2 separate regions of the Homo sapiens genome follow, and region 2 is linked to region 1. Evidence: promoter capture Hi-C in human tissues and cell types (Jung and others, 2019). All regions are on one chromosome and are shown on one strand. Each heading gives the region's core, a stretch centred on a gene start or on the middle of the fragment in contact. The rest is flanking DNA. Distances are from core to core; before and after follow the strand shown. Region 1 holds the start of RYR3 (ryanodine receptor 3). Region 2 overlaps RYR3 (ryanodine receptor 3).

Region 1 (5,940 bases), core at 2,172-4,671:
AAGACCTAAGGTCCAAGTCCTCCGGCTCTCTACTAAGAGTAACTGGTCTTGAGAGAGACTCAGTTTAAAATATAGGCTGTGTGGAAGCAAACCCAATGTGTATGGGGTATGGGGGCATGGAGGTGGTGTATGAACCTGATGTTTTCCACTTTGCTGTTCTAGAAGCAAGGCACTATAGTGGAGAAAGTACTGAAAAGTATTGAGATTGTTTTACTCCAAGTAAGAGGAGATTGTGTGACTCCTTTTACTAGATGTATGAATTTAGACAAGTAACTTACTATTAGTTTATTCTCTCCCGGTCTTAATGGGTGAACTAATAGCAAAACAAGTATCAAAGCACAGTGTCTGAACTACTATTTATCTGTACCTGTATGACTACAGCATCATTATTGGTGCATCTTTGGGAAATCTTAGAGAATGGAAGAAGTACCAATAGATTTCAAATAGAAGTAAATGTCCACCTTCCCCAGTTTACAGTCTGAAACAACAGCCTGAGACTCTTTTATACGCTGAGCTCCAGAACAATCTTAGATTTTGATAATTAAACAGCTTACTTTTGGGAACTCTAAAGGAACACAAAGACCATCAGGAATCCAAGTGGATGCACCAATGGTGTTACAGAACTCCATTCTTACTTCTTTTGTGGTAGGGTTATTTGACTGATGCGGGAGGTGGTGTCCCAGATTACATATCTGTATTTCAGTAAAGTATGTAAGAAAGGCATTTATAGTAGCCCTATGAACAAGAAGAAATTTGGGCTGCAAAATAATATATTTATGTAGGTTATTTTTTAATTATAACTTTTATTTTAGGTTCAAGGGTACATATGTAGGTTTGTTACATAAGTAAACTGCATGTCATGGAGGTTTGGTGTACAGATTATTTTGTCACGCAGGTAATAAGCATAGTACTCAATAGGTATTATTTTTCTGACTTAGGTAAGTTCTTGATCATTAAATAAGCATAATCAAAAGTATGAAAGTTAATCCAACAGGGCCTCTATTAGTATTCTGAAGGTATGCCATATTAAGCATAATCAAAAGTATGAAAGTTAATCCAAGAGGGCCTCTATTAGTATTCTGAAGGTATGCCATATCACAGGTTAGTAATAATTAGCACCTTGCCTGGCATACTCTAGCTTTAAAAATACCTTAAAGGTTCACATATAGAGACATCAATACATGATTGGGTATTACAATTGGAAGGAACACACACACACCCACCCACACACACACACACACACACACATATTTTTGAGACAGAGTCTCGCTCTTGTTGCCCAGGCTGGAGTGCAATGGCATGATCTCGGCTCACGGCAATCTTCACCTCCCGGGTTCAAGCGATTCTCCTGCCTCAGCCTCCCAAGTAGCTGGGATTACAGGCATGCACCACCACGACCGGCTAATTTTGTATTTTTTTTTTTTTTTTAGTAGAAATGGGGTTTCTCCATGTTGGTCAGGCTGGTCTCGAACTGCCGACCTCAGGTGATCCACCCGCCTTGGCCTCCCAAAGTGTTGAGATTATAGGCGTGAGCCACCGTGCCCACAGGTACTCAAGCACTTGCATGTGATCAAGATGGAGAAGAGCTGACTTTTGCAGTTCACGTGGGAGGAAAAAAGTAAATCTAGAAATTCTAGTTAACTCCAAACACAGTGAGTGTCATTAGTGTTTCTCCAGAAGCCAATCCAATATTAGGCTGCACATAAAGACTGTCCAAAACAAGGACGGAGAGCACAACAATTCAGGAAGAAGACCACCTGGAATGCTCATATGGCCATCAAAGATGACATAGGCTCTGGAAACTATACTACAGGGAAAGTTGGGGCTAAGAAGAACCTTGAGCCAGGAGAAGAAAAGAGTGGATGGTGGGCCATAGAGGCAAGCATGGCAGATGCCTTCTAAGAGGTGAAGGGCCACAATGTACAGATGGTTTGACTTATTCTAGGCGGGTTTCAGAAGAGGCACAAGGCCCAAGCTGAAGCCTAGAAGGTAGCAGTTTGAGTACAATACAAGAAAAAAACATTTTTCTTTGCATTTCTGATGTTCATCAGAACATATGGGACGGAAGCTCAGGAAAGAGATCTTAAGGTAGCATCAAGAGATAGATGTCGTCCACAAGGAGGCGGTATATGAAGCTGTGAAATGGCTTGGGGTTTCCAGTGTCTTCCACCATCATCAGCCCAGAATTACCACCTTCCCAGTTGCACTTCCTCCTAAATCTACATCTCTGGTGCCTTTTGCCTTGAACAGTCTCTTGCCTTGGAGCTTCTCGGCCATCAAACAGAAGGGGGCACCCTGCACCGTCAGTCAAGGCAAGGACCAATCTGGCAATCCCCAACCATGGAAAAGGACCTAAGGCTGGGTGGGATGTAGGAGCCTTCCAGGACCTGGAAGGGAGCCTCCTGTAACTACTCTCTACTCCCTTTAGAGTCCACAGGGCTGGAACTCTAAATGCAGAATAAGGTTAGGGGTGGGCAGAGAGGAAGGGTTGTGATGCCACCTGACTTCCAAATTGAGGGTGGCACAGGATCCCCCAGAAGCTCCCTGGGGTACAGAAGTCACAGCAACCCTGGACAATCCAGGGGTTTGGTAAAGTGTACTTACCAATTTTGAAGAGGGGAAGGGGTTCTCTTAAGGTGTAGAAAGGACTATCCAGGGAGTTGCAAACTTTGTTGTAAGTGGACAATCACCCTCGCTCCTCACTGCACCGTCTTCTCCTTGCCCAACAATGCACGCGGGTCCTAGCAAGGTATTCGAGTCCAGATCTCTCTCTCTCTCTCTCTCTCTCTCTCTGTCTCTGTCTCTCTCTCTTTCCTCTCTCTGTCTCTCTGTCTCTGTCTCTCTCTTTCCTCTCTCTCTCTCTCTGTCTCTGTCTCTCTCTTTCCTCTCTCTCTCTCTCTATCTCTGTCACACACACACACACACACACACACACACACACACACACACAGGCAAAGTGGGCAAAGCGGGCAAAGCGAGCAAAGCGAGAGGGTTGGTACCCAGTCTGGGCGCGCTGGAGCTAAGCAACTGGCCTTTGTTTGTGAATTGGAGCAGTTTAGGGGACATCCTCCGGTCGCCGCGGGGCGCGCGCCTCCGCTGAGTGTGCGGTGCGGTACCCAGCGGTGCGGGGGAGGCTCCACCGCGCCAGCCCAGGGCCCCCGCACCGCCCCCGCCAGCTCGACGCGCCCAGCGTTGCGCTCTCCACGGAGCGGGCGGCCGCAGCGCACTTGGCTGGGGCGAGAGGCGAGAGGGGTGGGCGGACTGCTTGGTTGGCGTTGGCGCTCTGCAGTGCAGTGGAGTGTTAGCCCAGCTCCCTATATGGTCGGGGATTAGCTTGGCGCTGCTGAGGCTGAGGCTGAGCCAGGAGCTGGAGGAGGAGGTGGAGGACGAGGACGAAAAGGAGGAGGAGAAAGAGCGCAGCAGCAGTCAGCGCACGCCGAGCGGCTGCCGGGGGAAGCAGAGGCGCCGGAGGCTGGGGCACCGCCGACGCCTCGGGAGCCATGGCCGAAGGGGGAGAAGGAGGCGAGGACGAGATCCAGTTTCTGAGGACTGTGAGTCTCCGCGGCGGGGGCGAGGCCGTGGGCAGGTGGGGAGGAGCGCGGAGCGCGGCGAGGAGGGGCTGGCTGCGCTGCGCCGCGGTGCCGGGTGCCCGGTGCCGGGCGCTTTCTCCGCACCCGCGGGCTGCAGAGGCGGACCGGCCACCTACCCGCGGGGCCGCGAGGGGCTGCGTGGGAAGGGGCACCATCTCCTGCCTCTCCCTTGTTCCCCTACCGCCACCCCTGCCCCAGGCCCTCCACCTAGGACCGCTCGCTCTCCAGGCAACTTGCTACTTGGTCTGAAACCCTTGATGCCCAAACTTCAGCCGGGGTTTGTTCGCGGTTGTCCTGACCCATAAGATCGGCGTTGGAAGCCCTCGCCCCGGGGTCGGCCCTCTGACACCTCCATACTCCACCCCAGCCCCATTCCTCTTCCAGGGCGCCCCCACGCACAGGGGAACCTCCGGGAAGGAGCCAGCGGGGCAGGGGGGAGTGTGGGGAGCCGGGTCGGAGAAGCGGGCGCAGGCGCTTGGTCCTAGCCCTGGGATCGCTCGGAGGGGAATTCACCCAGCGCTGCCCCTCTCGTGTTAAGCCCCACGCCGGCAACTGCTGCTGGAGCCTGACTTGACTGACTGCCTGTCGTGTGTTCGAGAGCTGTGGCTTCTGCTCCTGGCTCCCGCGAGCCCCGCAGGACAGGGAAACCCCAGTCAGTGGCTCCGCGTCACTCAGGTCCCCTCCTTGACACCTGAGGGCGCTGCTCCGTCCCAGATTTGGGGGTGAGGGGGCGAAGTCTGTTGCAGCCACACCAGCCTTGCCCTGTAGGAGATAATACAAAGACTTTCAGGGTGGACGGCCACCCGGAGGGGTGGGGGCATTGGGGATGCATCCTAGCGCTGACTTCAGCCAAGTGACCTTGAGCAAGTCGCATAATCCGCCCTACTCAGCCTCAGTTTCCTCATGTGTAAAATAAAATGTAACCAGCGTTTCAGGGTGATAAGGATTAAACGTTATCGTGAATGTCATAATGTTTTGTAAACGGCAAATCGCTCTGTAAATCTTAGGTAATTTTATATGCGCTGCCTTGCTCTCAGGAATTAGAATGAAATTCTTTCTTTCCCTCTCTCACTTCCCTTTAAGGGTGCCCCCTTCTCCATGACCTGGTCTTCGAAGATCACAACTTACCTCTTGTCCATCTTTTGAACCACTCTCCTCCTGTTGAAGCGCTTCCTTCCAATTTACTTCAGTTTCTCTTCCAAACATGGTTCTTTTGTCAAAGCTGGGACTTGGGTCTTATTTGGGGGGGGTATGGAAGTACCTATCGCCCTGCTGGTACTACTGAGAGGCTAGAGTATTCATCTCTTCATCCTTCGTCTGACCTGCAGACCCAGACTCCATTCTCATCTCTCACACTGCACACAAGATGGCCCCACAGTTGCAACTCATGACAACCCTATTGTTATAAAGCTGCCTGCTCCCCTCAAAGCTCCATCAAATCCTTTGGTTGTCCCTCTGACAGGTGTCTTTAGTAGTGGATGGGTGGCAGCTCAGGTTTTTTCTGCCTTGTGTCCTCCATGATCAGTCATTTCTTCTCCTTATTATTAATGATCTTCTAGGCGTTATTGCTTGAAAAAATTATCTTCAGACAGGGTCAGTGTTGAATAGATGTCCCAGGGAGTTGAGGCTTAGGAAGGTGGTAGTTGTTGTGAGATCCTTATGCTTTTCTCTTGGCTTCTGAGCCATCTTCCCTGACTTTTCCTCTCCATCTGGCATTGTAAGTGTTTTTTGTTTTTGTTTGTTTTTGGTACACCTGTAGCCAAGGTTTACTATAGTAGTGGTTCTTAAGTTTTGTGTCCTGGGCTTCCTGCCCTAGAGATCAGAGCTGGCAGACCTCTTTTAAAGTACACCCATGACAGCCTGTGGGGTTCAAGGACCCAGGTTCAGAGCCCCTGTTGCAGAGAACTGCATACCGGTTATGGCTTAGAGCGAGTGATGGTGGTAACCATGGGGGCAGTGACTCCAAATGTGGCGTTATTGGTTCTTTTCCTTCTAGTTATCACCTTATGTATTTTTTAAGGTGTGTTCCTCATTTCTTCACCCTATGAGGCACCTTAACATCTTTGTTTTTAGCTCACTGGGAAGGAAATAGGTGATGAAACTGAAGCACAGGAAATCGAGTGACTTGAACATAGCTGTTGACAAGTTATTGGTAATTTTCATTATACAATGTTCAATTACATTCCCGCTAGAGCCTGGCATTGAGCGTTACGCCAGATGTTATATATAGTCTTAAGAATATACCTAAGAACATAAGAGGAGTACTGCAGCTTTCTGAGCTTGGCATCCTCCTTCTTCATCTGTGAATTCGACAAAATGATTTTTTGGAATCCAATAGCCATAAGCTTTT
Region 2 (5,940 bases), core at 902-3,401, 110 kb after region 1:
GACTGTTATGATGCCTCTAAGAGAACAGAGATGCAACCTATAATTATGAATTTATCAGACAATAGGTGACTTTCCACAGCAATTCTTAATGTGTTACCATAATCACACTTTCTCCTTTGGAGAATCAAGCCTTGTTTTAAGAATTTGCATTGCATAGAGAGTGGGAGAGGGGAAATGGATGTGTTGGGCATCCAGCAAAGCTTAAAAAGAAAATATAATTGGGTTCCTCCTTATCTGCAGCAAAGCAACCAACAGAAGAATCAGAATGTCAGGGGTTTGAGTGTTTAGCAGGTGACGATGGGGTCTCAAGCCCAGGGCCTGTTTATAAGTCCCACAAAACATAATACATTTGTTTGTGATGTTACTTGTAAGTTGATTAATATTTTTATATTGACATAGAAGAGCAAGGTGAATCTGCTGGATTTCTTGTAGACCATTCCATTCAGAGTGGAGGTACCTTCATGTTGTGTCTTATTTGTTCTTGCAACATCCTGATGAGGTAGAAATCTATCCTTATTTTGCAGACGAAGTTAAGGCACAAGAAGTCAGTTTCAGCAAAGCAAGTCAGGGACAGATGGAGCACTAGAATCAGATCTCTAAATTTGCAGCATGTTCTTTTCCTTCGATTTTTTTTTTAAAACAATCTCACAAATTTTAAAAACTGAGCTGCTGTTTATTTGTCTAGTTCTTTGCCTACCTTATAAGAAAGGAAGCTGTTGCTTCTGATAAGGCCCCTTGATGAAATATGCAGATATGGAAGTAGGAAAGCAAAAATAATCTAGATCAGAACCTACTGTTGGTAAAATGAAATCCCACCATGTCCATTACCTACCTGCTGTGATGGTAAGCAGTCATTCTGCAGGCATTTTTGAGTACCTGCCCTGTACCATGCAGTGTGCTGGAGACTGAGGAGGTGTGCCTAAATTTTTCTTGGGGGTCTTGCTTCTTTAGGGAAAATTACCTTACAAAGATGACTGAGTCCTGAATGGGTTATCCAGGCCAAAAAGGTCAATTTGGGGAGCCATGAGAGGAGGGATTTCACTTACTATTCATTCATTCTTTCTGTAGTAAAGGCCTGGAACTAAGAAAGATCCTGGTGAATTGGAGGAGAAACGGAATGAAGCTGAATTTTAGATTTCAAAGGGGTGCATAAGGAGACCAGAGAGAGAGGCAGAGGACAGATATTAGAAGATGTCATTGATTGTGTAAGGTATTTAGAAGGACCTCATGCAAGGGAGTTATCTAATTAGAGCTGCTTTTGCAATGAGTCTGAGCCTAGAGGTAGGTTGAAAGGAGACAAGACTAAAGACACAGAGATCAATTTGGAGTTGTTGTATGAATCCAGGTGAAAAACCAAGGCCTGGACTAGGATAACGACATTGAGGATGGAAGTAATCTAATCTGTATGGTTTGGGAAAGGTTATAGGGGCTTGGTGAGAATCGGATGTGGACAATAAAAAGGCGAAGGAAGCCTCTAGGATGATGTCTAGGTTTCTGGTTCCCAAACAAAGGTAGATGGTGTGAAATAAGGAATGCTGGCAGAGGAGGGGTTTTTGAAAGATCAGTAGGAGACAATGAGCTTACTCTTAGACCTCTAAGAGTAATAATCAAATAACCTAGGTCATGCTGATGAGGCCCTAATTCATAGTGACCAAACTCACAGGAGTTTATAAATCTGAGTATTATTCTGTGAATTATTATTTAGAAGCATTTATTTCCGATGACTGGAAAATCCCCTATTTATATCAGTTCCATCTGTTAGGTAGAACTTCAGAGTAACCCAATTGTCAGATGTAGAAGCAGAACAAAGAAAAACGGATGAATTTTAAAAGAGGTTTAATTTAGTCCCATAAAATGTGGAAGACCTGCTTGGAAACAGACATATTTAGATAAGAATAATCAAATTACTCATTTTTTGAGGTTGGTAGTATTGGGTGATTACTAACATTTTTACTCTTCACCTTAAGATTTTGCTTCCTTCACTGCAGTGCTACTTCAGTTCATTATTATAATTGAACAATTCTGTTTCACATGGAGCACATTTTCAATAAACTCCTTCCCACTTGCCTTCTCAGAACTTCCTCAGGTTCCAGTTTGTGTGGATAGTCTCACTGTGGGGGTGATCCTTTGAGGCTTTTCTGACTTTGATGGTTTTTTTGTTTTTGTTTTATTACTTGACACCTGGTATTCATACTTAAACTTGGTGTCCACTGAAGGACAATGAGGCAGCAGCAGTGAGTGACTTCATCTTAGAATACAGGTGATCAGAATCTTTACTCCCCAGCTGAGTGCTGGGCTTAGTCTCTTGCTCATTTATTTAAAAACCATTTATGGAATACTAGTCCTTGTAGAGAAATATGGAATGGCATATTTCCTGTTCTTAATAAAGTAACAGTGTAGTAGAATACAGACATGCAAATGAGGAATTGGAATATTGTGATTGCCATTGCAGAGGGATAAATCAAGGTAATGGGCCATGGGTAAAGGAGCTTCAGAAGTGTGGGGAAGGCTTGATCATGGATTCATTAGGCTAGATGATAAGAGTTGGGGTAGGGGTGGTATGTGAGCCCTTTCTAAATACACAGAACTGCGTGGGCAAGCAGAGAGAGAGAGGAGAGAACCTCGCACATCCTGGGACTCTTCTGTATCGTGGGGCCATGAATTTATAGATAGCAGAGGTAGTATGAGAGATGAACCTGGGCTTGGACAGGTAAGTAGGAACCAGATCAGCAGAGGCCTTGTATCCCCTGTAAAACAGTTTAAATATTAGCCTGCAGAAAGCCATTGAATTGGTTTGAATAATATATTTTAAAGGCATCTAGTTCTAAGCATATTTGCATTTGACATAGACCTAAAGACAAGACAAGGTTGCATTTATTCCCTCTTGTAGTAGTTGAGAAAACTTTGCATATTAGTGTTTTTATTTTGCTTCAAGGGAGTTTAAATTGTAACATATATATAACATTGAGTTTGCCATTTTAACAAGTTTTAATTTTAATGGTTAAAATTCAGTGGTAATAAGTACTTACACAATGTTTTACAACCATCACCACTATTCCCAAAACATCTCCATTACCACAAATAGAGACTTTGCAACCATTAAGCAATAACTCTCCATCCCTGCCTCCAGCCCCTGGTAATCTCAAATCTACCTTCTGTGTCTATGGATTTGCCTATTCTAGAAATTTCATATAATTGAAATTATATAATATTTGTCTTTCTGTGTCTGACTTATTTCACTTAACAAAATGTTTCCAGAGTTTATCCATGTTGTAGTATGTATCAGAACTTCATTCCTTTTTTATAGCTGAATAAAATTCAATTGTATGTATAGACTGTATTTTGTTTATCCATTTATCTGTTGACAGACACTTTGATTGTTTCCACCTTAGGTTATTGTGAATTGGCCTGTAAGCATCTGTTTGAGTTCCTGCTTTCAGTTCCTTTGGATATATACCTAGAAGTGGAGTTTCTGGGTCACATGGTAATTCTACATTTAACTTTTTGAGGACCCACCAAACTGTTTTCCACTGTTTACCATTTTACACTTCCACCAGCAATGTACGAGGATTCTGATTTCTCCACATCTTTATCAACATTTATTATTTTCCAGGTTTTTTTTTTAATATTGTCATAGCCATCCTAGTGGGTGTGAAGTAGAATCTCATTGTGCTCTTATGCACCCTGGATTTGGAATATGCAAAAATATTTTGTAGTGAGTAATAAGCTTTGAACACATTTTTGTTCATGAGGTTTCTTAAGTGTTCCTATTTTTGCCATAGAAAATAATTGATTATAGACTTTTATTTCCAAGTTAAGGCTTGTCAGTTGAAGCATTCTTCTAAAAATTTTAAAGTAAGAAAACCCGTTGCTCTGAAATATCCTCCAATGCACCCAGGATCAGTTTGCTAAACGGCAGCTCTTGGCCATGTCAATATGCCTTGCTAGTACTCTTGGTGAACTCTCCTTGCCCTGGTTCAGATGTCCCTAGTCTCTGGGCTAGACTAGTACAGTGGCTTGCAAACTGTTCCCTCATTTCCTGATCTCCTCTTTTTCTCATTCCTCCTAAATACTGCAGGCAGTACAGCATAGTGCTTAAGTGCACAGGCATCAGAATGAGAACCTGGTCTGAGTCCCAGCTCTGCCACTACTAGCCATGACACTTCAGACAAGTCAGTTAATCTCAGTGAACACCTGTTTCTTTACCTATAAAAGAGGACAACATTGCCTACCCAACAGGGCTATTGTGAAGACAAGACAGGTCAAGCCCTTAGTACATTGCTTGGCACATAGACAAATGGGGTTAGTTGGGGTGCTATTAATACTGCCTGCAGAGTTATTTTTCTAAAAACCTGATTATGGAACTTCTCTGCTTGAGCCACTTCAAATTTCTGTTTTCTCAAAACAAACTTCAAACTGTTTGGTACTTTGTAAGAGGCCCTTTGCAGCGTAGGTCGCTAGCCTTGTCTGCTGCCCTCCTAAGCCACTGGCCAGTGTAGACCAGATAAGCATGTGACTGATAGCTCAGTGCATGCTCTCCCATCTGCCTGATTGAGCCACATTTAAGGAAATTATCCTTTCTCTGAAGCCTATAAAAAGATTCCTCTCTCTGAAGCCCCACCTGGCATATATTGGACTGGGTCTAGGCTCACCTATCTCTGTTAGAGTGATTATCTGTCATCACATGGGGGTTTTTGTGAACTCTTCTGTGTCTTATTTATCTTATTTATCATATCTTATTTATATGATGAGCACTATAGGGCCTCTATCAAGATGCAAAGATGAGAAGCCGGGCATGGTGGTGTGTGCGTGTAGCCCCAGCTACTTGGAAGGCTAAGGCAGGAAAATCACTTGAGCCCATGAGTTTGAGTCCAGCCTGGCAACATTTTGAAAAACAAGAAGAAGAAAATGGGAATATGGGAATAACTTTACCTACAGCAATCAGCCCCATTCCCTTGTTTTCTAACTTGGCATGGTTAGGATTGTGGGAAGAGTTTCCACATCTTGAAACTTACCTGTCCTTTCATGTGGCCATACAGTCAACAGACTCCTTAAAAGTGCACCATGGATGAATCCTGTGTGCTAGTGTTGATCTCCACCGCGTTTTACTTATTCAGCAACTCTGTTGAATACCCAGTTGGTGTAAGTCACTTTAATAGCCCCCTAAAGGAGATAAAGAATTGCATAAGATGTTTCTGTTAATGAGGCTTTTCAAGATAAATGTTCTTGCTTGTCCTGTGGCTTTGAGGAATGTAAAATCTAGTTGGAGCAATTGTAGTCTGTCTGTTTGCTGGAGAGGCTGTGGGAAATTCTGACTCCTCCTGTCGTCATTGTATTTCCAAAACAGTTCAGCCTTCTTGCTTGGCAGATGGGGCCACATGTAGTCCTGACTCAGCTTCTGAATTTCTGGTGAAATCTAAAACTACAGAGAGAAGAGAAATCCTGCTGTTTGCAAAGGATTCAAGAGGGAGACCACAATAGGTAGCAATTCAGAAGTAAACACCAACAAAATAACCCTGTGTTGTCTGCTATAGTCTACAGTCTGTTTTCTGACACCATTTGGTCTGAAGCTTCTACTAGGTTGAGACTCACAATTTTTTTTTTTTTTTTTTTTTTGAGATGGAGTCTCGCTCTGTGGCCCAGGCTGGAGTGAATTGCCGTGATCTTGGCTCACTGCAAGCTCCGCCTCCCGGGTTCATGCCATTCTCCTGCCTCAGCCTCCCGAGTAGCTGGGACTACAGGCGCCCGCCACCACACCCGGCTAATTTTTTTGTATTTTTAGTAGAGACGGGGTTTCACCGTGTTAGCCAGGATGGTCTCAATCTCCTGACCTCGTGATCCGCCCGCCTTGGCCTCCCAAAGTGCTCGGATTACAGGCATGAGCCACCGCGCCTGGACTGTTTTTTTATTCTTTAAATCTTTAAAGAAAATATACTGATA

What was found. The method cuts DNA at HindIII sites, captures the fragments that hold promoters and counts their contacts. A contact is called where the count stands out against the background at its distance.
Region 2: a contact is called between a fragment that was not itself captured here and the fragment with the promoter of RYR3 in region 1, in 3 of the 25 tissues and cell types used here (aorta, heart left ventricle and hippocampus).

The regions. Positions count from the first base shown.
Region 1 is chr15:33,307,546-33,313,485 of GRCh38, forward strand. RYR3 (ryanodine receptor 3) reads left to right here and starts at 3,422. Exons shown (of 104, transcript NM_001036.6): 1 at 3,422-3,551. The coding sequence starts at 3,501. It overlaps RYR3-DT (RYR3 divergent transcript), which reads right to left and starts at 3,114. Exons shown (of 3, transcript NR_120327.1): 1 at 3,033-3,114. RefSeq lists enhancers at 3,643-4,154, 4,155-4,664. The HindIII fragment of the contact is 9,811 bases long and covers 1-5,940 here.
Region 2 is chr15:33,420,044-33,425,983 of GRCh38, forward strand. All of the region lies in intron 1 of RYR3 (ryanodine receptor 3), which reads left to right. Among named protein-coding and RNA genes, the nearest start is that of RYR3, 110 kb to the left of the region's middle. The HindIII fragment of the contact is 4,994 bases long and covers 1-4,648 here.